2 separate regions of the Homo sapiens genome follow, and region 1 is linked to region 2. Evidence: promoter capture Hi-C in 16 types of primary human blood cells and fetal thymus (Javierre and others, 2016). All regions are on one chromosome and are shown on one strand. The core of a region is centred on a gene start or on the middle of the fragment in contact, and the rest is flanking DNA. Distances in the headings are between cores, read along the strand shown. Region 1 overlaps RBM15-AS1 (RBM15 antisense RNA 1). Region 2 holds the start of PROK1 (prokineticin 1).

The links. The method cuts DNA at HindIII sites, captures the fragments that hold promoters and counts their contacts. A CHiCAGO score of 5 or more calls a contact.
Region 1: a fragment that was not itself captured here is called in contact with the fragment with the promoter of PROK1 in region 2 in 2 of 17 cell types (M2 macrophages and total B cells); the score reaches 6.1 in M2 macrophages.

What each region holds. Positions count from the first base shown.
Region 1 is chr1:110,330,578-110,333,277 of GRCh38, forward strand. All of the region lies in intron 1 of RBM15-AS1 (RBM15 antisense RNA 1), which reads right to left. Among named protein-coding and RNA genes, the nearest start is that of RBM15-AS1, 7.2 kb to the right of the region's middle. The HindIII fragment of the contact is 5,554 bases long and covers 1-2,700 here.
Region 2 is chr1:110,449,735-110,452,434 of GRCh38, forward strand. It overlaps PROK1 (prokineticin 1), which reads left to right and starts at 1,415. Exons shown (of 3, transcript NM_032414.3): 1 at 1,415-1,554. The coding sequence starts at 1,483. The HindIII fragment of the contact is 11,265 bases long and covers 1-1,994 here.

The DNA of each region.
Region 1 (2,700 bases), core at 45-2,544, 120 kb before region 2:
TAATCTTTTTTTTTTTTTTTTTAAGACAGAGTCTTGCTCTGTTGCCCAGGCTGGAGTGCAGTGGCACAGTCTCGGCTCACTGCAAGCTCCGCCTCCCGGGTTCACGCCATTCTCCTGTCTCAGCCTCCCGAGTAGCTGGGACTACAGGTGCCTGCCACCACGCCCAGCTAATTTTTTTTGTATTTTTAGTAGAGACAGGGTTTCACCATGTTAGCCAGGATGGTCTCGATCTCCTGACCTCGTGATCCGCCCTCCTCGGCCTCCCAAAGTGCTGGGATTACAGGCACGAGCCACCATGCCTGGCCAGGGTGAGGGTTAATCTTTAACCTACAGGCCTGGCCAGTGGCGCCGATCAGTCTGTTATTTTTCAGTTTTTACTTCCTCCTTTTCTTTGGAGACGGGACAGGAGGAGAAATGGCCTCTCTCCTCACTAAAAATAGAAAAAATTAGACAGACCTGTTGGTGCTCAGGAGGCTGAGGCAGGGGAATCACTGGAACCCAGGAGGCAGATGTTGCAGTGAGCCAAGATCATGCCATTGCACTCCAGCCTGGGCAACGAGAGTGAAACTCTGTCTCAAAAAATAAAAATAAAATAAAATAAGGAATAATAGTGCTCACCATCATTCTTTCTATGTAACATTCTATCAAAGATTCTATCAGTCAAAGTCAGCACAGTAACACCAGAAAAGCAAAATCATAAGGATTAGAAAGGAAGAAATATTCTTACTATTTGTAGATGATATGACTGCCTACATAAAAAACTAAAAGGGGGTCAGGCACAATGGCTCATGCTTGTAATCCCAGCACTTTGGGAAGCCAAGGTGGGGAGATTGCTTGAGCCCAGGAGTTCAAGATCAGCCTGGGCAATATGGTGAAACCCTATCTCCACTAAAAATACAAAAACTGAGGTGAGAGGATCACCTGAGCCTTGGGAGGTCGAGGCTGCAGTGAGCCGTGATCACACCACTGCCCTCCAGCCTGGGCAACAGAGTGAGACCCTGTCTCAAAAAAAAAAAAAAATTTAGCAAGGGCCTGTATTTCGAATCCTGACAACAGACAAATAAAAAGCATAATTTAATTTAAAAAGACACCATTACCAATAGTTACGAACCATACTAAAAGAGATGCAAGAGTATTCATCAAGTATACAAATTTTGCTGAAGGAAACGAAATAAGACCTAATTAAATGAAAAAATCCATATTCACTGAAATACTTTTTTAATAAGGAAAAATAATTTTTTTATAGGGAGACTTTTTTTTGTCTTTTTCTTTCCTTTTTGTGGAGAACAGGGTCTCGCTATGTGTTGCCCATGCAGATCTCAAACTCCTGGGCTCAAGCTATCCTCCCCTCTCTGCCTCCCTAAGTGCTGGGATTACAGGTATGAACCACTCTGCCTTATAATTTATAAGAAAGAACAAAAATTTAATATAGTCAAATACTGGTGGCAGGGTTGGGGAAAGTGATGAGGATTTCTTAGACAAGATACAGAAAGTGCTAACTATAAAATGTTGATAAATTCAATCTTATTTAAATTAAGAATTTGTATCTTAAATATCAGCTTAAATTGTGTGAAAAGATAAGCCACAACTAGAAAAAGATGTTTGCCATACATACACTCTATAATAAAGGATTAGGATCAAGAACATGTGAAAAACTCATACACCTATAAGAAACATACAATTCAATAGAGGAGCAAAATACATGAGTAGATATTTCATAGATGAAGAAATATATATGGCCAGTAAACTTATAAAGAGATATGCAACCTCACTAGTAATCAAGGAAATAAAATATCAAAACCACAGAGACATGCTATTTTATGTCCATTTGATTAAAAAAAGTTATAAAATGTTAGTGACGTGGATCAATAAGATCTCTTATACACTACTGATGAGACTGTAAATTGCTAAACACCACTTTAGAAAACAATTTGACATTATCCTGTGAAATTGAATATTCAATATAACCTTTTTTTTTTTTTTTTTTTTTTTAAGAGACAGGGAGGGTCTCACTATATTACCCAGGCTGGCCTTGAACTCCTGGGCTCAAGTGATCTGTCCACCTCAGCCTCCTGAGTAGCTGGGGTTACAGGCCAGCTTCAATATAACTTTTTAATCCAGTAATTCCACTCCTAGGTATCCTTCACCTCTCCATCCTATCCCAGGGGAATTCTTGCATGTGTGCCTCAGGACATATGAATGAGAATCTTCATCATAGCACTGCATTAGGCCATTCTGCGTTGCTATAAAGGAATACACAAGACTGGGGTAATTTATAAAGAAAAGAGGTTTTAACTGGCTCATAGTTCTGCAGGCTGTACAGGAAGCATGGTGCTGACATCTGCTCAGCTTCTGGTGAGGTTTTGGCCTGCTTACAATCATGGCAGAAGGCAAAGGGGGAGCCAGCATATCACATAGTGAGAGTGGGAGTGAGAGAGAGTGGAGTGACATATACTTTTAAACAACCAGAACTCTGGAGAACTCACTCACTATCACGAGGACAGCACCAAGCCATGAAGGATCCTCCCCCATGATCCAAATGCCTCTCACCAGGCCCCACCACCAACACTGAAGATAACATTTCAACATGAGATTAGAGGGGACAACATTCAAACTATATCAAGCACTCTTCATAATAGCACAAAAAGTAAAAAATACTCATAGCCCAAATCAAAAGAAGAATGGATATATAAGTAGTAG
Region 2 (2,700 bases), core at 165-2,664:
AAATGCTATTCTTATCCCATGTTATAGATAGGAAAACTGAGGCTTGGAGAGATTAGCAATATTTTCAAGGTCATGAAGCCATCGATCTGAATCAAAGCATCTGCCTCTGGGGGCTTAGCTCCCAGCTCCCGTGCTAGTTAACCTTCCTCTCTGCACTCATAAATGCCTATCAGCGTTTCAATGTGGAAACCCTAGACCCCTGTGACATTTGATAAGAAAGGTTTTGTGGATGAATCTGCTTGTGAAATACTACAAACTGCATTTCCCACTTGGTGTTTCAAACACTTATTAGCATATGAAAGGCCCTGAAAAGTTCTGCAAAAAACAAGCCGGTTTGTGTTTCCCAAATTTTTGACTGTAGAAGTCTTTTATTTGTTTATTTGTGTATTAACATATTGCAACACATACCTTGGGAAATGTTGGCTTTTATTACTGTGGAGAGAAGGCAGATCATCTGACAAAGCACTGGGAGCTCTCTCTGGGTCGTATGACACAGAGAGGGCTGGGGTCAGGGGCTTCCCTCACAGGCGGAGGGGCCATCCCGAAAGTCAACTTCCCACCAGACTGGCATCTGAGACCACCGTGTTTATACACTCACGGATAAGGCCACTCTCATGCTCACCCCTAAAACTGGAAGGCCAGTGGTGTGGCTCTGGTACCTTTCAGCCACAGCCCATACCAGCTCGGCTCTGCAGGGTACTGAGAGAGTGTGTGCCCTGTATGTTTGCTGGCTTTCTGCCCTTGGGTCATTGTACCAAGGGACACTTGCTGGTGTTCATCCTGAGCCCATGAGAGAGCAAATCCTTATGTGTGTGTCACTTAGGAACATCAGCCCCACAAGTCTGGTCTTTTTTTCCTCACTGTCTTATGGCTCCTCACTATAATTTTAACCTTTTAGAGAAATAAGGATACCACCTCACCCTCTTCTGTCTTCTCAGCTACCTCTGTGTTGAGCCCATGGTAAATGCCTAGATAAGTCTTGGTGTGAGTGAGAGGGAACCAATAATCTTGTATGTTGCATAGTTTGGTGCAGGGAAGCATAAATGGTGATGTTGCAAATCCCTTAATTCATTACCAGAGGCTTTCCTCTGCCCCAAGTAGGATAGAAGGATACCCAGAGGCAGAAAAGAACATTGAGTGAAATATACATAACTGTCTGAATCACTGCGTTCTTGGGAGAGTTAGAGCAACCGTCAAAGCCCCCCAAGTATCCATTTTTATTGGTTTTGATGTTGATTTGATGTTGTTAGAGATTCAGGTCTCATCTTCGCTTCTGAGATCATCTGAGTAACATCGGTGTTGGAGAAGGGAAGAGCAGAGATGAGGCATCCACAGGCAGCCCTGGATCCTGAGTGTAAACATCTGGGAGGAGGCGGGGGATGCAGGAGAGCCTGGCCTCCCCAGCTTGCCAGGCACAAGGCTGAGCGGGAGGAAGCGAGAGGCATCTAAGCAGGCAGTGTTTTGCCTTCACCCCAAGTGACCATGAGAGGTGCCACGCGAGTCTCAATCATGCTCCTCCTAGTAACTGTGTCTGACTGTGCTGTGATCACAGGGGTAAGTCGCCTAACATTCTCTGTGCCTTGGGTTTTGGGAAGATGTCAGGGTCTGCACGGGTTGTGAGCCCAGGAACCATGCAGGAGGCTCTGTTGGCTCAACACAGTGTGAACCAAAGGGAATGGGGAATTATGCATTAAAGGGATTGCATGCGATTTTCAGACTAGTTAGACCTCACTCTACTAAATGGGATCTGCTTTTGAGAAGCTGTGTATGAATCAAATCCTGTTTTCAATGTGTTAGCAGAGCATTGAACATTTTGAAGTTCAGTCCTTTGGTAAAGTGAAGATTCCTATTAAGTAATAAGGAATTCCTTTATAAAGTGGATTGGCAAACCTTAACTTATCTTTTGTGTGAATTTTAATTTTTATTTATGGTCTGATTCACATATTAATATTAATATTAATTTACATAGCATGTTGACTTAATTAAAGGCAGTAAGCTTAATTAAAGGTGGTAAGCTTATAAACTTCTATTGTATAAACTTAACCTCCGCTTAGAAAGGATATCTTTGAAACTCTTTCACTCTGTGCCTGCCTAGTTAGTTCTGAGAGGAATATGGGTGCCACTAACATTCAGCTGAGTGTACCCCAAAGCAAGCATCCAGATAACAAGTAGATATCCAGTCTCGAAGCAGAGAAGCAAAGGTTCAGCATATGGGCACTGTACAATTGGTTCAAAATATTCAGATCATGGTTTTCTCTCGGAAGTTTGCTTTTACCTCAAACCACCTTCAAATAGGGGCACATGATGTGTTATGGTAGCAGGACCATTCTTACTGAAGCAGAAAGCAATGCTGTACCTGAGAGCTTTCCATATAAAATCCACTGGAAGAAAAAGGTCGGGGAAGCAGGGAAACTAACTTTTAGTTCAGCCTCCACCAGCTTTTTACATGGATAGTGGAAATGTAGAGAAATGCCAAACAATTCCTGGAATTGGGTTAATTTTACCATTCACAGAAAGGACAAATTCTTTCTTTTCTCTTTTAAAGGAAAAACACTGAGTTCAAAAGAACAAATATTAAAGGCGAGTCAAATGCTTTTGAGATCCAAAGCAAAAATAAAAATAATTGTGAAGGCAGAATTATACCTAATGAAGTGTTTACACTGTAGGCTGCCCTTCTATGGGGTAGCTTGAAAATCTGGG